Regions from separate parts of the Homo sapiens genome. Here regions 2, 3, 4, 5 and 6 are each linked to region 1. Evidence: promoter capture Hi-C in 16 types of primary human blood cells and fetal thymus (Javierre and others, 2016). All regions are on one chromosome and are shown on one strand. The core of a region is centred on a gene start or on the middle of the fragment in contact, and the rest is flanking DNA. Distances in the headings are between cores, read along the strand shown.

Region 1 (3,374 bases), core at 447-2,946:
ATGAATTTGGTCAGACATACAGTGTAACAGATGTCCAACATGCTGCCATGAACTTAAATCATAGATATGATGCCTCTGTTTGGCATGGCAAAATATATTAGAACTGTTTCATCAGTCACTGGGCAACTTGCTAGATGGAGGGGGAATAATCCTGAAAAATGCAGGAGCTGCTTCTAATAGCATCTAAAAGGATCCCTGGAGAAACACAGATAATCTGCTTGCAGTGATTCATCAAGTTGGTCCTTTGTTTCATTAATTTGAGTGTCAAGTGCAACCATACAATAAAGAATTGCCAAGACCTGGTAAGATTCTCCTCTGGCTGCTGCTTTTCCTGCCCTAACAACTGGTACTATTCATGCCTAAAGCACAAACTGAATAAATAGTTTCAAGGCTGGCAATGTTGGACAGTGCTTCCTATTTTGCTTTTCCTTGAAAGGCTAAATCGTGTGCTTTCTTGCCCTCTCCCAAACACGTTGCACTGATATTCATTATTGCACCAATAATTTTAACTTTCTTAATACTAAGTATGGAAGGATGCCTCATAAGATAAAAATAGTTCCTGTTGTATCATCAGTCCAGCAATAGATTAGGGAAGATTAAAAATGGATTGTAATGCCTTCTTTGGCCTTGAGAAAGCTCTTATTGTGCCCATGGTTCAGTAGGCCTGCTGATCATTTCCATCTTAATGTAATCTTTAACATTACACTGCTACAGGTGAGATGTTAAGTAATACATTAAGACAACTATTTTCACTGAGCAATTTCACAAGAAATATGTTTTTAGCTAAATTAGACATTTAACAAATGCCATTTGTAATTCAATGCAGAGGAGACAGCATCCTTAAAACAAGCTATTGATGTGACTTTCCCAACATAAAACAATACTTATGTTTTTTTAATTTTAATTGAAGTCCTGAATGTGAAACTATCGCCGTCAGTGCAGTAGACCAACGGAAAGCACCAAATACCTTAGGATTATGAAATAAGCCATATGCAGTTTTATCTCTAGCAGACAGAAATTCTTCATCCAAATTAGGAAGAATCTACAGGTCAAGTTAATCATGTAGCTGTGACGTGCTGAATGTTTTTAAAACTTTAAGATCATTTAGATGAACACTAGGAAACTCAGAGGTCAGGCAGAAATGTAAATTGTAATATTCAATGAAAATAATAAATGAAATAATTGAGATGAAATATTATCTAAAGAATGCATGAGAATAACTGAATCTGATAAAGTAAAATTAAAATTAAGAGAGAAGAGAAAATAAGAAAGTGAGCAATTGAAAAACGGAATAATAAATAATTTTTTAAGAAAAATAATTTCATCATGTATTTCTCTATGCTACGTACATAAACGCAAACGCTATAAATAGAGTTATTGACATTTGGGAGGTTGATTTGTTTTTATCAACATCGCAAAACAGAAAATTTAGGTTGCAGATTTTCACATGGCTATCACGTTCAGAATCCAATCAGGTTCTCCTTCTTTACTACTTGATGACTTCTTTAAAGATAAATAAGCCCGCGGACCAAGAAGTGGGTACACTGGCTCGGTTAACTCTCTCTCCCCAGAAATTTCACTACTGAAAAGATTATTATTTGGGGGCGGGGAAGGGGATGTAGAGGTCTTTAGGACCCAGCAGGCGGCGGCAGGCGGCAGTTGTGTAGATCGCTGAGAGACTACGAGGGTCCGGTTCAGTTTTAATTCTGTCTCTAATCTCTGCAACAGCCGCGCTTCCCGGGTCCCGCGGCTCCCGCGCGCGATCTGCCGCGGCCGGCTGCTGGGCAAAAATCAGAGCCGCCTCCGCCCCATTACCCATCATGGAAACCCTCCAGGAAAAAGTGGCCCCGGACGCGCGAGCCTGAGGATTCTGCACAAAAGAGGTGCCCAAAATGAAGACCCTGATGGTGAGTCAGTTGTGGCAACTCCACCGGGCAAAGAGGGGGATCCCCGGGCTCAGGGTCCACGGGACGCACCGTGGAGACTCCGAGACGCCTAACCCTGGGCCGCGAGGTCGCCTGTTACAAAGGGACAACTTTCTACCCGCTCCGCGTTCCCTCCCGATTCTCCAGCTCTGCCTGGCTCGGAATCCCAGAGCCAGGATGGGAACTCGGGGTTGCCTCGCCTCCTAGATCTCCGGCGAGAGGTCCGAGGGGGTGGCGGAGAGCTGCAGGAGCGATGGAGGAGTGGGCAGATTGCTCAAGGGATGGGGGTGCCCAAAAGCAACAGCCTGCCAAAAACTAAGAGGGACGGGGAGGGGGGACCTTTGCAGACTTTCTTCGTTTTCTTAGATTTCAAACTTGCAAGGATCGCAAGGATCCAGGGCCCCAGGAAAGGAGGGGTGTGAAGGACTCAAAATTCCAGCAGCTTGGCTGGGGTGGCTGCGCCAGACGGGCCCTTCCCCAAAGTGCAAACCCACCCCTGTCCTCGGCCCCGGCGCGCTCCCTCCCTCAGCCCGGGGCCGTACACCACCTGCCCTCTACCGAGAGATCTGGGCGGCGGCGGCCGAAAGCAGCGACGCGCCCGGAGCATCCCTTGCGATACGCTAGGGGACGGTGCTTTCTCTGTCCCAGTTGCGTGCGGCGGGGCTGGGGCCCAGGCCGCCCCAAATCTCCCCCACTAGAGTGACCACCGCACAGTTGTCCCCGCTGGGCGCGCTCCTCCGGTGTCTGCGCTCAGCCGCTCTCCTCTTCTCTCTCCCGCCCGCCCGCAGCGCCATGGTCTGGCAGTGTGTTTAGCGCTCACCACCATGTGCACCAGCTTGTTGCTAGTGTACAGCAGCCTCGGCGGCCAGAAGGAGCGGCCCCCGCAGCAGCAGCAGCAGCAGCAGCAACAGCAGCAGCAGGCGTCGGCCACCGGCAGCTCGCAGCCGGCGGCGGAGAGCAGCACCCAGCAGCGCCCCGGGGTCCCCGCGGGACCGCGGCCACTGGACGGATACCTCGGAGTGGCGGACCACAAGGTGACAGCATGCCCGCCAGCCCGCTCGCCACTCAGCCTGGGGATCCCGCACACCTGAGCCTTCCCCCTTTCCCGGGGCTGGGAGGCGCTGTGAGTAGGTGCCGTTCGAAGGCTGGAGGGGAGTGGACCCGCTGGGGTAGGGTGGGCTAGTTCCAACTTGGTATGAATTCTTATTTGGAGAAAGACACAAAGTTTTGTAGAAAATAGGGGTGAGGTGCGTGGACCCCAAAGCCTAATTTCCCAGCAGAAATCGGCCCTGGAACTAGAACTCCCTGATCCCCAGAATTGCAGCTGCGGATGGAGGTCCGGTTCCTGAAGCCTCGGGTTTGGCCGCCGAGTCGCTGCCTGGTGGGAGGAAACTGGGGTTGGCGCGGGTACCAGCCTGAGCGTTCCTCTGACCCGGAACCGGAGGGTGA
Region 2 (3,374 bases), core at 278-2,777, 780 kb before region 1:
ACAATATTATTCTTTCAGCAGCTATTATTTATTGAGCACCTACAATGTGGCAGATGAACTAATCATCTTACCTTATGTGAGTAAACTTTATAGCATCTCTTTGAGGTAGATGTGTCCCCATTTTATAAATGGAGACACTGGCTCAGAGAAGGTAAGAGTAAGTTAGAGTGCACTTACATACACCTGGGTGTGCACTGAGAGTGTATTTATATACACCTAGAAGTTAAGAATAACTTATCTGAGCCACGGTTTCTCCATTGTAAGTGCTAGTGGGGCCAGGGAATAAAATTCAGATCTGTCTGACCCAAAATACCTTGCTTTTAACCATCTGGTCTTCTACCTCTGTAGAGGAGAGAATCATTTAGGAAGGAGCCTATGGAAATAATTTTGATCTGAATTAAACTGATTATCTTTTAAAAGTTAAGGAGTTCTTAGAACTTTTCTTTGATGTTAAGAACTTTTAAACTAGATTATACTTAAGAAGACAATTTATTTCACTTGCTTAGTTCAGGTCAGACCTGGTGGAATTAGTCTCACTGATAAGCAGATACTTGAACAGAATCTTGATGAATAAGCATGAGCATTAACTTCAGACTAACTGGCCGGATGGCTGTGCCTCCTGGTCTACCCACCTACTGCTCTCCCTGCCACAAGTTCCTCTTCTTCATTTGTCACTCTTTTATCTGTTCTTGGCACAGCAACCAGAAGGAATTTTAAAAGATGCACGTAAGATGATCTCATTCCCTTTCTTATCTGGTCAGTGGCTTCCTTTTTCATTTGGAATATATTACGATCTTTGAATCATGACTCCACAGGCCTACAGGATCCCTTTCCAGTCTCCTCCAAGGCACTCAGCCTCTTATTATTTTCTAGCTACTCTAGGGTCTTTTCAGGCCCTGAATCTGAAACATGACATTTGTGGAAAATGATGGGAAGTACTTTATGGCTAAAGCTTAGTCTGGACTTTGGGGGCTGGTGGGACATTAGGTAGACTAAGGGTTTGGACTTGACCTTGTAGGTAATGGAACACTTTTGAGACATTTTTAGCACAAAACTAAACGTAATGGAGCCACTGAGCTGAGGAGTAGAATATTCTTCTATTGTCTTTTTAGAGTGCTCAGAGTCCCTGCATTGCCACTGGTCATTGCCCTTTGTACTTGGAAATGACTTGTTCCAATTATGACAGCCTTGCAATTGCGCAGGCCGAATGTTTATCAGAAAACTGTAAGTTAAAACATGGCAATGACATCTCTCTCCTTGTGTGTCATATTTAAGGCACATGTTCTCTGAAATCAAGAAGCTGGGCTAGGATCTTGCACTGGCCCCAGACCATATTCTGTTGTGACCATGCTTCAGTGAGAATGTGTCACGTGTAAAATGAAGATAAGCAAGAATATCAGTCTGTTTGAAAGTGCTAATAAAAGTAAAATATTCTTGGCAAATAAAGCTATTAATGTAGGTGTTGAAATTTTCATTTAGTCAGAGCAGTCCTAAATTTAAATGTAACCTTTTGAGCCCTTAGATCATTGAGTTAAGACTCTTTCTCATGCGGATGAACAGTAAATGCTTGTTATCTGAAGATGTAAATTGGGAGGAGTAAGGGACTTCTGCCCCATTGTGCATTAATGCCTACTGTTTGTTTCCCTGACTTAGAATGTGGCTCCATATTTTTGCCCTCAAGGCAGCTATTGATGGAGTCATCCTATGCTCCAAACCTTGAGCTAAGCACCACATATAGTCATGTGCCACATGACGACGTTTCAGTCCAGTCAATGGCAGACTGCCTATATGACAGTGGTCCCATAAGATGATAATATCACATTTTTACTGTATCTTTTCTGTGTTTAGATATGTTTAGATACACAGATACTTACCATTGTGTTACAGTTATTATACCTATAGTATATAGCACAGTAATGTGCTGTATGGGTTTGTAGCCTAAGAGCAATTGGCTATACCATGTAGCCTAGGTATGTAGTAGGCTACACCATCTAGGTGTATGTAAGTGCACTCTATGATGCTCACACAACTACACTTACGGATGTGGTTCTCAGAACATATCCCTATCATTGAGCCATTCATGACTGTATGTATATGTCAGTTAAAGCTTATAACAACACTGTGAATCTGTTTTTTCATCCTGCTGTGAGTTTGGATTGTTTATGAGGAAATGCGGGCTTAGAGAATTTAATTGCTTAAAGTCAGAGAGTTAGGAGATCCTTCAGTTTTGACTGATGTCAACCTCCGTGCTCTTAACCCCAGCTCTGTCCAAGTCATAAGACCATCCTATAGACAGGCCAGAATGGTACAAGTGGAAACACAGGAAGAGATCTTCTTTCCTATAGACCTTAAATAAAAATGTCTCTTGGATCATCTTGTCTGAAAGCCCATCTTTTTGGGTTTATTTCTCTGATTAGAGAGATACTTTGTTTTGCCTAATACGTATTTTTAGAAAGTAGTACAGGCATCAGTCTTTTGTAAACTCTTTGAGATTTAAATAAGGAAGTTTGCTGTTTGAAGGACTTTGTGGCTAATCCCTTGGTAAAGAAGTATCTTATAATTGACTATGAATGCCTTAGTAGCTATTCTGTTTCATAACTTGACTTTCAAAAAATAATAATGGCAAAAGATGACATTTTTTGATAAGCACCAGGTGCTTTTAGAAGCAATTTTTATGGGAGTTTCTAATCTAATCATCACAGCAACCCTTCAAAATGGGTGCTATTATTGTGTCCATTTGACAGAGAAGTAAACTGAGGTGACAGTGGCTAGATGCAGGGATGGCTTCGTGGCATGTGACCTGCATGATCACACAGGACCCCATGCTTAGAAGGGCCCCATGCTTGGTGTAATATTCTGCAATTATTGTCGTAGAAGACTTCATAATTTTGAACAAGGGCCCTGCATTTTTATTTTGCATGGGGCCTCATAAATTATGTGGTTGGTCCTGCCTAGCCAAATTGTCCAAGGCCATTCCATGGTGAGCAGCAGAGTTGAGGTTCAAACCCAGACTGCCTGGCGTCCAGCGTGACTGCCTGGCCTCCAGAGTGATTGCCTGGCCTCCAGGGTGTGCTCTTCCATTGTGTCCTCCTGCTTCCCATATTCCCATGTTCTTAAGCACTGTCCTCCATCTTGTTTTTCTCTGGACGTGTCTTTAGAGGCAGAGGCAGGTGGTTTGACTCATGTCTGTTGAATTCTAAAGATTCAGAATTTATTTGTTGAACTGAATGTTTGTTACATACAATTTCCTAATTAAGTTTGTGGGAGTGCAGTAGTAAAGATTTGAAGATATGGGAAGAATTGCATATCCTGGCTATAGTGAAAAATCATAGTCTAAAAATAAATGGGAATAAAGTGGAAACACTGTAACATGT
Region 3 (3,374 bases), core at 875-3,374, 720 kb before region 1:
GGCTCAGGAGTAGCAGGAGGCTTCTGGCACAGAATGAGAAGATGGGAAAGCGTGCTGCTTGGCCACAATGGAAGGAGGAGAAAGGTCAAGGAGCTCGGTCAGTAATCCCCACTCTGAGGCCAAGGAAAGAGGATGGAGGAAAGGGCAACCAGAACATCAAATACCACATAAGCAAGAAGCCATAAGTTTCTTTCCAAACTAACAGTTAAGAAAACAGACCTAACCACTTCTACTCAGGGACTACATCTTATTTGTTTTTGTATCCATAGTGCCTGGCCTCTAGTTGAACTTGACAAATATTGGAGTGTGTTGGCCTGTTTCTTGTTCACTCATTTGTTCAGTCATTCAACAAATATTTAAGTGCCTATCATGGAACAGCCACTGCTTTGAGAGCTTACAATCAATGCTGAAGAAAACAACACGGAAGGATTCCCCCTGCCTTGGCTTCACCTGGGAGGGGAGATGGGCAGTGAGCCCATGCTAGCTTCTAATGCACTCACCACTTCTTTTAATAAATACAATACTCTCCCCGCTTCCCCTAATGATTCTGTGAAGCAAACTAGTCTATAGTTCCTGGTATCTTCTTTTCTTGAAAAGTTGACATAGATGACAGTTGTGTCCTGAAGTCTGATAGCTTCTATGAATTTCTCAAACATTGGTTACCAACTGGTTTGGGGATCACCTTGACAAACTGTGTAATTTAGAGGTGAGGGCCTCCTTTATTGGAGTCAGGAGACCTCTTGGATTTGTGTCTTCACTCTGTTATGAGTTGAGTGGCCTCAGGCATCTTCTGAGTTTCTCATTCCTTTACTGAAAATAATAATGCTTATCTTAAAGTAGCTTGTTCAGAACTTGCCTTGTCTCAAGAATCAGCCAGACATTTATAAACAAATCTGAATCCTGAACGTCAACCCAGGCTTGTCTAAGAATTCTCCTCTTTATAATTTTTAGCTGCTCAGAGTAGAGAGCCTGTCACCAACCCTCACACTGTTATTACAGTTTCCTGTTTCTCCTTAACATTTATTCCACCACATTTTGCACATATGACTTTAGACCTTGAACTTTCAAGTCTTTCTAGACCAAAGGACAACAATGCTTTCCAGAGAGTCCAGCAGGAATCACACTGGGAAAGCTAAAAAAGCAACTCAGTCCTTTTCACCCAGTCTATTTCATCCAACCCCGCTGCCCCTCCTTGAATCCTGGAAGGATCATCTATTGCCTTTCAACTCAAAGTGTGGGACGTGTACTAGCAGCATGGGCATCACCAGGGAGCTTGTTGGACACGTGGAGTCTCAGACTCCACCTTAGACCCACTGACTCAATCTGAATCTTGACAAGGTTCCTGTATATCATGCATGTTACTCTTTGAGAAGCACCAGCCTGTTGAATACCTCTGGGCCAAAATACTATTCAGATGTGTTGTTCTTTTTCAATTACGGAAATAATTAGTGACTTAAAACTCACTTCTGATTCAGGACTGCATGGCTGTTTAAGTCGATATGTCTGCGTTAATGCTGTTGTAATGACATCACAGAATTGAGGCATTTATGAACTGGAGAGTAAATTCTATATGTGTTTAAAAATTAGATAAATAAGAATTTACATGACAGTTTAATAGGGGCTTTAAAAATTTAACACGGATAAGTCATCTGCTTTTTCAATGGATTTTCCTGAATAGTGGGATCACAAAAGAAATTTATGTGTTTTTCTAAGTTTCTTTTTCTTTTAATGTGGATTTACAAGTGATTAATTTAAAAATTTGCTCTCTGATTAGCAGGTAACATTTATAATCTGGACCTGTACCTAAGATAGCTTAGCAAATGAACACAAATGGCTTACTAGGTCTTTGCTTTTGAAAACGTATGGCCATCTAAAAGTAGTAAAGGCAATTTAATAAATACAGACAATCTGCTAAGCAGCCAAGGAAAAAAGGTGCCTGAATTATATATGTCTGCATGAGTGGACAAGACGTGCTTTTCAAGATTAATGATTTAAGCTGTTCTTTACGTTCCCAGACTGATTAAACAAGGCTTAATTCTAAACAACACTTTCTCCTTTTCTTGCTTCTTCAAAATTCACTGTCCTTCTCTATCCCTTCAGGATTGATTGCAGGGGTGATCCAGGATGGTGTCTGTCTAAAGCCTTAACTTCTCTCCCTTCATAAAAGGAAGATTATCCCTTTTTTAATTCCTTGTTTTCATTGATGTCAGATGAGAGGCATTCAGAAGGAGTGTTAGCATTCACTGCACTTTCCCTGAAAGTGGCTCAACTTTTGATTGAGATGTTCTTGAAGATTCTGTTAGTGGCATCTTGGCATGCTCCTGTCCTCTCTGACTTTGACGGCTCCTCCCCTCCTCCTTCTTTTCTCCCTCACACTCCTGTCCACACTTCCAGTCAAGTGCTTTCCAGAGCCTGTCATTCAGTTTCTTTTCTCTCTCCCAAATCCATCGTCTTTTCCCAATTTGTAGGATTTTTTCTTTTTCCCTCTTGTTCAGCATTTCATAAAGTTAGTCCTGCCAGGTTTTAATAGGGGTTCCACCCCCCTCACCGCTAAAAAAAATTGATCAGGACAAAGTATAAAATATTAATTTAGACAGTTAAATATCATTTTGTTTGTTGGTTTAGCCTCAGGACAAATTAGAACTTTTAATATGCTGCCAGGAGGGGTTGGGTGGTTTTCTCATTTCTGAATTTATTTCCCTGTAGAACCTTCTTTGAAAGTATCTAGGAAGACCAGTGTTTGATGAAATGTACTTTCCGACCTCCTCCTTGACATCTCTCCTACATGCTTCTCTCCATCTCATGCTATGTCTAATGACTCCGTGTACTGCTCCACGTGTCACATCCTCAAATACATCCTAAATTAAACACTACCAACATTAGCTAACTTCTACTGATCACTCCCCCCACTTCTTTTTTTTTTTTTTTTTGAGACTAGTCTCACTCTGTCTCCCAGGCTGGAGTACAATGGTGCCATCTTGGCCCACTACGACCTCTGCCTCCTGGGTTCAAGTGATTCTCCTGCCTCAGCCTCCCAAGTAGCTGAGATTACAGGCACCTGCCACCATGCCCAGCTAATTTTTGTATTTTTAGTAGAGACAGGGTTTCCCCATGTTGGCCAGGCTGGTCTCGAACTCCTGACCTCAGGTGATCCAACTGCCTCAGCCTCCCAAAGTGCTGGGATTACAGGCGTGAGCTGCTGTTCCTGGCCTGATCACTCACTTTTACTGCTAAGGCTTTTAAAAGTATTTTGCCTCTTTGATTGTCTATGAAATCAAGCACAGATATCTTAACCTGAGATGCAAGACCATGTGTGTTCTTGGACCAACCAACTTGCAATCAATCTTCCCCCTTCCCCAGCATTTAACATTCTT
Region 4 (3,374 bases), core at 576-3,075, 700 kb before region 1:
TGCAAACACAGGAATTGCTATCATAATCTTAAAGATAAAAATAATTTGAGTAAATAAATTAGGAAGGGGAAAGGCTGATGTTAGTCAATGCCAAAGCTGATTTTGTAGAGCCAGAATGAAAAAAAATATGTGATTGAAAAATGTAGGCATCTATCTGCAAGACTTTCTAAAAAAAATGCAGATAGTAGTAATAAACTGCATTGCTGGAGAGAGGGGACTAAAATGTGTGTGTGTGTTTTTAAGATTTAACTTTTAAGTTCAGGGGTACATGTGCATATTTGCTATATAGGTAAACTTGTCTCAAGGGGGTTTGTTGTACAGATTATTTCATCACCCAGGTATTAAGCCTAGTATTATATAGGTAAACTTGTGTCATGGGGTTTGTTGTACAGATTGTTTTGTTGACCAGGTATTAAGCCTAGTACCTGTTAGTTATTGTTCCTGATCCTCTCCCTCCTCTCACCTTCCTTCCTCTGATAGGCCCCAGTGTATGTTGTTCCCTTCTGTGTGTCTGTGTGTTCTCATCATTTAGCTCCTATTTGTAAGTGAGAGCTTGCAGTATTTGGTTTTCTATTACTGCCTTAGTTTGCTAAGGATAATGGCCTTCAGCTTCATTCATGTCCCTGTAAAAGATATGATCTTGTTCCTTTTAATGGTTGCATAGTATTCCGTGGTATATATGTACCATGTTTTCTTTATCCAGTCTATCATTGATGAGCATTTAGGTTGATTCAATGTCTTTACAAGTGTGAACAGTGCTGTAATTAACATACATGTGCATGTGTCTTTTATAATAGAATGATTTGTATTTATTTGGATATATACCCAGTAATGAGATTACTAGGTCAAATGGTATTTCTGTTTTTAGGTCTTTGAGGAGTCACCAGTGTCTTCCACAGTGGTTGAACTAATTTACACTCCCACCAACAGTGTATAACCATTCCTTTTTCTCCACAACTTCACCAGCATCTGTTATTTTTGACTTTTTAATAATAGACATTCTGACTGGCGTGAGATGGCATCTCATTGTGGTTTTGATTTGCATTTCTCAAATAATCAGTGATGCTGAGTTTTTTTTCATATGATTATTGGCTGCATGTACATCTTCTTTTGAAAAGTGTCTGTTCATGTCCTTTGTCCACTTTCTAATGGGTTTTTTTTCTTGTACATTTGTTTGTATTTCTTATAAATGCTAGATATTAGACCTTTGTCAGATGCATAGTTTGCACAAATTTCCTCCCATTCTGTAGGTTGTCTGTTCACTTTGTTGAGAGTTTCTTTTGCTGTGCAGAAGATCTTTAGTTTAATTAGATCCTGTTTGTAAACTTTTGCTTTTCTTGTAATTGCTTTTGGTGTCTTCGTCATGAAATCTTTCCCTGTTTCTATGGCCAGAATGGTGTTGCCTAAGTTGGAGTTTTTCTAGTTTTGGGTTTTACATTTAAGTCCTTAATTCATCTTGAGTTAATTTTTGTATATGGCGGAAGGAAGGGGTCCAGTTTAAGTATTCTGCTTGTGGCTAGCCAATTATCCCAGAACAACTTACTGAATAGGGAATCCTTTCCCCATTGCTTGTTTTTGTCATGTTGAATATCAGATAGTTGTAGGTGTATGGCCTTATTTCTGGGTTCTCCAGTCTTTTTGATTGGTCTGTTTTCTCTTTTTGTACCAGTACTATGCTGTTTGGTTACTGTAGCTGTGTAGTACAGTTTGAAGTCCAGTAGCATGATGTGTCCAGCTTTGTTCATTTTGCTTAAGATTGCCTTGACTATTTGGGCTCATTTTTTGCTTCCATATGAATTTTAAAATTGTTTTCTCTAGTTCTGTGAAGAATGTCAATGCTAGTTTAACAGGAATAGCATTGAATCTATAAAATACTTTGGGCAGCATGGCCATTTTAACAATATCGATTCTTCCTATCCATGAGCATGGAATGTTTTTCCATTTATTTGTGTTATCTCTGGTTTCTTTGAGCAGTGTTTTGTAGTTCTCCTTGTAGAGATCTTTCACCTCCCTGGTTGGCTGAGTATTCTTAAGTATTTTATTATTTTTATGGCAATTGTGAGTAGGATTGCGTTGCCTATTCGGCTCTTGGCTTCACTGTTGTTGATGTACAGGAATGTTAGTGATTTTTGTGCATTTATTTTGTAACCTGAGACTTTGCTGAAGTTGTTTATCAGCTTAAGGAGCTTTTGGGCTGAGACTATTGGGTTTTATAGATATAGGATCATCTTGTCTACAAACAGGGATAGTTTGACTTCCTCTCTTCCGATTTTGATGCCCTTTTCTTCTTTCTCTTGCCTGATTGATCTGGCCAGGACCCAATACTGTTGAATAAGAGTGGTGAGAGAGGGCATCCTTGTCTTGTGCTGGTTTTCAAGGGAAATGCTTCCAGCTTTTACCCATTCATTATGGTGTTGGCTGTGGGTTTGTCATAGATGGTTCTTATTATTTTGAGGTATATTCATTTAATACCTAGTTTATCGAGAGTTTTTAACATGAAGGGATGTTGAATTTTATGGAGAGCCTTTTCTGCATCTATTGAAATAATCATGTTTTTTGTCTTTAGTTCTGTTTATATGATGGCTCACATTAATTGATTTGCATGTGTTGAACCAACCTTGCATCCCAGGGATAACAAGCCTATTTGATTGTGGTAGATAAATTTTTTGATGTGCTGCTGGATTTGGTTTGTCAGTATTTTGTAGTTGATATTCATCCAGGCTATTGGCCTGAAGATTCCTTTTGTTGTTGTTGTGTGTCTGCCAGGTTTTGGTATCAGCATGATGCTGGCCTCATAGAATGAGTAAGGGAGGAGTCACTCTACCTCAACTTTTGGGAATTGGTTCAGAAGGAATGGTACCAGCTCATCTATGTACATCTGGTGGAATTCAGCTGTGAATCCATCTGGCCCTGGGCTTTTATTGGTTGGTAGGCTATTTGTTGATTCAATTTCGGAGCTCATTATTGTCTGTTCAGGGATTCAGTTTCTTCCTGGTTCAGTCTTGGGAGGGTGTATATGTCCAGAAATGTATCAATTTCTTCTAGATTTTCTAGTTTATGTGCATAGAGGTGATCATAATATTCTCTGATGGTTGGTTGTATTTCTGTGGGGTCAGTGGTAATATTCCCCTTGCCATTTCTGATTGTGTTTATTGGAATCTTCTCTCTTTTCTTCTTTATTAGTTTAGCTAGTGGTATGTCTGTTTTATTAATTTTTATCAAAAAACAGCTCCTGGATTCATTGGTCTTTTGAATGATTTTTCATGTCTCAATTTTCTTCTGCTCAGCTCTGATTTTGGTTATTTCTTGTCTTCTGCTAGCTTTGGGATTGTTTGCTCTAGATTCTCTAGTTCTTTAGTTGTGATGTTAGGTTG
Region 5 (3,374 bases), core at 372-2,871, 560 kb before region 1:
GCAAAAAGCAACCAATCAGAGATACTTTCCATTTTCAATCTGCCACCTAGAAAAAGTGGGGTTTTGCAAAGGGAGTGGTCTCTGGTCCTTTTGTTACCTAGCCAGTGGAAAGTTAGGGTTTTTCTTTCAATTTAGTCCTAGGAAGTCAGCGTGAAACGGCCTTAGGTTCCCTGCCTCCAGACCCTATTCTCTTGCCTCATTAGTGTAACTTGACCACCTGAGTCTACCGGTACACCCCTGGTGAGAATCCACTTTTAGCTTTGTAAAGTACTTGGCATAATGCCTGATACTTGCTGAGTACATAGTGAGCTGTTGCAAGTCCCTTCCACTAAAAAATAAGCTATTGTCCTTATCAGAAGAATAGGATACTCTTTTGTTATCTATTTCTCATTCCATGATATAGGATTCTAGCTTTAAGTGTTGTCAATCTCAGACAAGAGTTGATTATCTAAAAAATATGGATTCTTGTAAGCCTTTTCATTATGTGCCATATAAAAAATGTTGCTCCAAGCAGGTTTACTAGTTTATCACCATTCAGATTTACAAGTTCTATCAGGAACTTCAAAGCAATTTCCTAGTAAATTTCCTAGTAAAAAGTCCAGTTTAACAAATGTTTAAATTTTTCTCACTTCTCTTTATATTTTAAATTTTTCTCACTTCTCTTTATATTTCACACCCTAACCCTCTCCCTCACTTTCCCATTCCCCACCACATTCACCTCAAATCTACACAGAAATCTTAAAGTGAGATGAATTAAGAAAAAAAAAGAAAATTGCCTTTTTTCTTTTATGAAAAAACATATTTTTATAATAATCTGAATCTGAAATTTTTGAAATAATTTAGGACTTATATTTAGAAAAAATCATTTAATCCCTCTGTCCTTCCTTCTTTCTCTCCTTCATTCTTTCATTTCTTCCACAAATATTTACTGAATATTTTCTGTTAAAGACATTGTGCTTGATACTGCCTTATGAGATATATTTCTCAGATTTTGTTCATGTCCTGAAGAAATTTTCAAAGACAAAATTAAGGGGGAATCTTTCTCTCCTTCCCTCCCTTCCTTTCTCCCTCCACTCTCCCTCTTCCCTCTTTCCTCCATCTTCTTTCTCCATCCACCCCATCCCACCCCACCCTTATCCATGAACTAGAAGCCAAGGAGGAACAAATGCTTTATGGGGGAAACACTCTGAGCAAGTTATATTGGAACTTGCAGAGATGAGGATGGTAGAATACAGCAAGGGGGCCAGGAGGAGCAGCATGAACAAGGTCACAGTAACTGGATAGCAAAGGGGCTTTAGAGAAGGCTGAGAAGTCCAGCTTGAAACATGGAGGACAGGAAAGGGAGAGATGGGAGAGGAGACTTCCCTTCTCACTTCACTTGTTACAGAGAGATGCATGTGAGGTGTGAGGATAAATGCCATTTAATGTAAGGTCATGTAGATTCACAGAAAAATAAGAGATTCCAGCTGATGTCATTATCATCGTAGTCATTTTCATCATTGTCGGGATGCCTCTGGCAGGACTTCCTCCCTAATGACACCAGGACCACCAGAATTTACACTTATGCTCTGCTTCTGTGTCCTGAACACCTTGGAGGTACGAATGGATTCTAAGAGACAAACTCATCTCGTTTAGAGTGAAAAGATGACAAGCAGAGGTTCGCAGAAGCCACATACAACCAATGAAGCCTATAAGGTAGCTGAGAATTAAACAAAAGCACCTGTTCCGATTACCTTCATTGTTCCTGGTTAGTTAGCACCTCCCTTTCCTCAACAGAATGCCCGGCGCACAGGGGTGGGATCTGAGTGAGGGCAACAGGTGGATTGGAGAACATTTCTTCCCATAAGTAGTAGGATTTGATGGAAAAACAAGTAACTTCAGGGTAATAAAATGATGGAAAGTCCTGATGGGTCAGGTCCATATCTAATCTTAAGAAGGGCAGCCTTAGGCAGCATAGTGGGTGCTAGAATCATTGGTACCATCAAGAAAAGAGTAGTAATGTGAATTTCAAAGAAGATCACTTTGGGATAATGAACAGCATGACAGAATCCGGGAGCCTAATGAAGAAGATGTGATATAGTAAAAGAAATATATTGAGTGTAGGCTTTGAATAGGGCAGAAGGAGTGGAACTAGAGAGGCAAGAGGAGATGTGATTATGGAAGGTCTTGTATATCATACCAAGGGTCTGCACTTACACTGTAGAGTCCAGAGGGATCTAAATGTAGGATAGACAGGATCAGGTTTGATTTTGGAAAGCTCAGTCTGGAGGTGGTGTGGCCAATGTTTGGGAAGTGGTAAAGACTCTTTCGGGAAAGACAATATCAAGAGCAAACATGGACTACTTCATCAGGTATCACCAGCAGATATTAAATTATCAGTACAAAACCCAGCAATTATTACTTTCAGATCGGCCTTTTTTCTCTTACTAGGAGAATATAGTCCAGATAGAGTGTACGTGCATGAATAATCATCATAGTCTTAACAGAGGATGAAGTTTAATGAGTGTTATCAGTTAGAGAATTATTTATATAATCTCAGTTTTCCAGACAAAGAAATAGAGGCATAGTGAGATGAAGTGACTGCCCAAAGTCATAGATGGAGAAAATGGTAAAGATGACTTGAACTCTGATATTCTGCCTCTAGAGCCTGTGTTCTAGTGTGTGAATTAACTAAGTTGTTAATTGTTATTCATACTAATGGGAACATTCTCATATAACTGGTTCAGAAATTTTAAAAACTGGTACCAGCCTTAGGTAGATTTTGTAATGCAGTTTGTCAGTAACCAAAATACCTAATTCATATGGAAAATTAAGAGGCTGGTGTGAAGCATGATAATTACATTTACTTTGAAATCAGCAATTTGTGGATAAATTTAATTCATTTTGCCCAACTCTGGCTTTATTCCCGGTATTAAAAAGACAACTACAGGGTGCACTTGGTTAGCACTCAGGGAAAATAAAGCAATTATTCTTCCACTTCTGCTAGAGAACACTAGGTACCCTTTGACAGTCAATTGTATAGACTCTTATTGTAGGCAGTTTGTAGGAACCAACCTGATGGAATGGGTATGTCTTCCTCTTTCAGCTCCACAATCCAATGACCCTTTTGTTCAACAAAAACACAACTAAACAACAAAATGTTGGTAGTTAAAAAAAAGTTTAAAAGTAATAGGACGCCTTCAACATGGTAATCTACTTTAAGAATTTAGAGCACATGTCAGTATGTCACCTTCAGACATGGTTATAGTCCAGTAAGAATTACAAATCCAACAAACAAAAATCAAGGCAATAGAGTTTTCATGGGTACCACTGTAATAAATTCTTCTGTGCAAAAAGCCAGTCCTAGAGAAAAATTATAGGTAGCAACATTTTCT
Region 6 (3,374 bases), core at 350-2,849, 510 kb before region 1:
TTTCAAAGAACGTTTTTCAAAGAAATGTGTGGGCCTAAATATCCTTTTGGAAATATTTCATTTATAACATTTTCAAACATTTTCATAATTATCTATATTGTTTTAAACTCCTTCCTGAGTCAGTTTTAAACACTTGCACATTCCCAGAAAATTCTCTTTTTATCTAAATTTTCAATTTTTTTAGTATAAAGACTATATGGAGATCTGTGATATACTTTAAAACTACTATAACTTTTTTTTATAACTTCTAACTTGTTTTGTGCTTTCTTTTTTTGTCTTTGTTAGAGTCTCCATGTTTGCCCATTTTGTTCGTTTTTCTGACAGCCTAGCTGTTGAATTTATTTGTCCACTTTAGAATTAAAATATTGCCAAATTTATTCTTATAATTAAAATTTTTTCAGAGTTTATGAGAAGTAGGATAATCATATATCCCAGTTGCCTGGCATATTCTGGTATATGCCTTCTATCCCAACGTAATTATTAGTAGTACTCTCTTTCCTCCCCAAAATACATCAGTTGGGTAATAAATTATGTGGCCACTCTAATGATAAGTGAAACATACATTTTCCTCTCAATACAATAGCAGGCTATAATTACAATGCATAATTATAATTACAGATATTGTCTCATCCCCTGGGATGTGAAAATTCATGTTGAGGAGGTTGGGGTGGGGGAAGGTCAAAAGGCTTTTGATATTATAAATGTTTGTGGCCATCCGAAGGGCCATAGTACCTAAGTAGATAACGAGTTTAACTGCAGTATCAAATTTCATGTGGGAGGGGGTATAAGTAGGATAAAATTGTCTTAACCAGGCTCCTTAGAGGGACAATAATGAAAAAAGAAAAGGTTGAGAAAAATGTTATAATGCTGTTTGAATACCACCATTGATTAGTTCATTTTATTTTTCTCCTTAATAGTCATTTGGTGTTTTCTAATTTGTAAGTAAATATAGTTTCTGTTTAAACAATAAGTTATTGTTTCAACACTGAAATACCCTTGTTGACATCATCAGTGGTCAACATTGTCAACACATTGTTCTGTGTTTTTGGCTGACTCTGCTTTTCAATACCGTCTGTCCAACTTGACTATTTCCTCCTTTTTTTTTTTTATTGAGAATATTATTGGGCTCATAGGATTAAATGAAATAAGATAGTAAGGCATTCAGAACTGTGCCTGTCCCTCCTGCTTTCCCTCTGTCTCACTGGTTATTTTCAAACTTTTTGGTTTCCTTTTTTTTTTTTTTTTTTTTTTACCTCCGGCCAATCTCTAATTGCTGGAGTGCTAAAGAGCTTGAGCTCTTTTTCTTCTCTATCTGCATTTTATTCCTGAATGACCTAATCTAATTACATTGCTTTAACTCCTTCTGTATAACTTTATACCTCCAGCCCTGACTCGTACCATGAGCCTCTGACTTGTATATTCCATTACCTGCTTGATATTTCCATGTGGATGTATAATAATTATCAGAATTAGGTACAGGCTCAAAACTGAATTTTTTTCTTCACATCTGTTCTACATTCCTCCTCGTTCCTATAAATGGTATTGCCATTCACTCAGTTTCTTAAGTCAAAAACCTAAGATGCATTCTAGACATTTCTCTGTCTGCCTTCCTCCACATTCCATCTGCCATCATGCCAGCTGGTTATATCACCAAACCTGTCCACTTCTCTTGATTTTCCTTGTTACTCTAATCCAAGACACCATCTGCTGTCACCTACATTCTCCACTGGTCTCCTGCTTCCACTCTCATCTTCCAGCCCTCACCCTCATCATCCATTCTCCAAAGAGATCTCTTAAATATACAACTAGAATTACTCCACTCCCCTTCTTAAATTCTTTATTGGGCTTTCACTGCAGTCAGAATAAACACTGAACTCTGTATCATGGCCAATAAAGAACCATGCTCCCATCTCCTCTCCAGCCACCCTGGCCTTCTATTCCCTTAACATGCCTAACCAGTTTCTGTCATGGGCTTGCTTGCTGTTTCCTCTCCCTGTACGTTCTTCGGGCCCACGCGTTTCTGTGGCTGGCCATTCTTGTCTGAGCAGTCTCAGCTCAGTTGCCACCCCTTCAGAGAGGCTTCCAACCTGGCACCATAACTAATGTCAGCTCCTTTCTACCAATGATTATTGAGTTGCCCTGCCCAACTTTTTTTTTTGTCAAATCATTGTTCGTTTGTTTTGAACTGGAGTGTTTATTGCAGAAATTTGGCCAAGGTTCCAATTGAGTGACTCCAGCTGAGGTTAGACTGGGGCCCCTTGCCCAGGGCTGGGCACCTGAGACAGGAAACAGTGAAGGGATCTGGGCCTCAGAGCTGTGAGATAGAACTGGGGACCAGGCTGCAGGTGAGGCCTGTATGGTCAGGTTCATGCAAGGCCTTCACCACACCATCCTCTATCACCAGGAAGAACCTCTCAAGCTCTCATCCTCAAAGAGTGGCAACAGCAAATCATCTAGTAACAAATCAGTCTCCTTCCCAGAGGCCCCAGGGCTGCCACCCATGAGCTGGCCTTGGCCTTCTGCACTGTGGCCTGTCCCCACTCACCAGTCACAAAGACACAAAGACAGTGGCACTTAAACATGGATCTGGCCCCCCTTTACCTTCAGAACCCCAGCCTACTCCCCAAACCCAAGCAGGTGGGTCTTTGACAGTTGGGGTGAAAGCCCCAGGGATTCTAAACAGCACACCCTTCTTTCCCTGGCATAGTTCTGTCAGGTCCACCTTGTTCCCAGGCTCCCTTTCAAACACCACTAATGCCAGGATAGCATCTCCCACCATGACAGGTGCCATGGCTGCAAAGTTACTGCTGAAATCGTGGGTCCCCAAGCATCCACTCTCCTTCTCTTTCTAGTAGTCACGCTGCTCCTGCTGCTGCTGTTGCTACCACTGCTCCTGCTGCTATGATTCTATCATAGCAGCCCCAGTGAGGACCAACCCAGTTCAATGTTTCAGGGCGCACAGTTGTGCCAGCTCCAGGCTGGGCCCTGTGGCTGCGACAGTCCTGTCTCTGTGGTTAGGCACCACCTATCCTATTCAGCCTTCTTAGGGTTATCTTAGTATTTGGTATAGCTCCTTCTTTTCTGTTGTCCTCCCAGCGCTATCATGTCAGTTCCGTGAAAAAAGAGACCTGTTTCTTCATTCACAATGCACATGTTCTCAGTACCTGGAACAGCTCCTGTCCCACAGTAGGTATTTGTGTGTATATTTTATGTAATAGATTTTTGGCTTAATTCTCATGGAGTCAAATGATGAATGTGAAATTCTTAAATGCTGAAGGTTTGCTGTATTTAGAAGTTTTTGTTGACTGATGGGTTGGTTGGTTGGCTTTAAAGTGAAGTAATCCATCAGGTTTTATGTATGTGAACTTTTATGG

Evidence for each region. The method cuts DNA at HindIII sites, captures the fragments that hold promoters and counts their contacts. A CHiCAGO score of 5 or more calls a contact.
Region 2: a fragment that was not itself captured here is called in contact with the fragment with the promoter of ST6GALNAC5 in region 1 in 1 of 17 cell types (fetal thymus); the score reaches 5.5 in fetal thymus.
Region 3: a contact is called between a fragment that was not itself captured here and the fragment with the promoter of ST6GALNAC5 in region 1, in 2 of 17 cell types (activated CD4 T cells and naive CD4 T cells). The highest score is 5.6, in activated CD4 T cells.
Region 4: a contact is called between a fragment that was not itself captured here and the fragment with the promoter of ST6GALNAC5 in region 1, in 1 of 17 cell types (erythroblasts). The highest score is 6.1, in erythroblasts.
Region 5: a fragment that was not itself captured here is called in contact with the fragment with the promoter of ST6GALNAC5 in region 1 in 1 of 17 cell types (megakaryocytes); the score reaches 5.0 in megakaryocytes.
Region 6: a fragment that was not itself captured here is called in contact with the fragment with the promoter of ST6GALNAC5 in region 1 in 1 of 17 cell types (megakaryocytes); the score reaches 5.6 in megakaryocytes.

The regions. Positions count from the first base shown.
Region 1 is chr1:76,865,784-76,869,157 of GRCh38, forward strand. It overlaps ST6GALNAC5 (ST6 N-acetylgalactosaminide alpha-2,6-sialyltransferase 5), which reads left to right and starts at 1,697. Exons shown (of 5, transcript NM_030965.3): 1 at 1,697-1,907; 2 at 2,714-2,959. The coding sequence starts at 1,893. RefSeq lists an enhancer at 2,572-2,781. The HindIII fragment of the contact is 4,193 bases long and covers 1-3,374 here.
Region 2 is chr1:76,089,816-76,093,189 of GRCh38, forward strand. All of the region lies in intron 1 of ST6GALNAC3 (ST6 N-acetylgalactosaminide alpha-2,6-sialyltransferase 3), which reads left to right. Among named protein-coding and RNA genes, the nearest start is that of ST6GALNAC3, 17 kb to the left of the region's middle. The HindIII fragment of the contact is 1,155 bases long and covers 951-2,105 here.
Region 3 is chr1:76,144,152-76,147,525 of GRCh38, forward strand. The region is part of intron 1 of ST6GALNAC3 (ST6 N-acetylgalactosaminide alpha-2,6-sialyltransferase 3); the gene reads left to right. Among named protein-coding and RNA genes, the nearest start is that of ST6GALNAC3, 71 kb to the left of the region's middle. The HindIII fragment of the contact is 5,591 bases long and covers 1-3,374 here.
Region 4 is chr1:76,164,709-76,168,082 of GRCh38, forward strand. All of the region lies in intron 1 of ST6GALNAC3 (ST6 N-acetylgalactosaminide alpha-2,6-sialyltransferase 3), which reads left to right. Among named protein-coding and RNA genes, the nearest start is that of ST6GALNAC3, 92 kb to the left of the region's middle. The HindIII fragment of the contact is 5,345 bases long and covers 1-3,374 here.
Region 5 is chr1:76,303,272-76,306,645 of GRCh38, forward strand. All of the region lies in intron 1 of ST6GALNAC3 (ST6 N-acetylgalactosaminide alpha-2,6-sialyltransferase 3), which reads left to right. Among named protein-coding and RNA genes, the nearest start is that of ST6GALNAC3, 230 kb to the left of the region's middle. RefSeq lists an enhancer at 1-512. The HindIII fragment of the contact is 4,943 bases long and covers 1-3,374 here.
Region 6 is chr1:76,351,269-76,354,642 of GRCh38, forward strand. The region is part of intron 2 of ST6GALNAC3 (ST6 N-acetylgalactosaminide alpha-2,6-sialyltransferase 3); the gene reads left to right. It also overlaps the pseudogene LOC100418965. Among named protein-coding and RNA genes, the nearest start is that of ST6GALNAC3, 280 kb to the left of the region's middle. The HindIII fragment of the contact is 4,072 bases long and covers 1-3,374 here.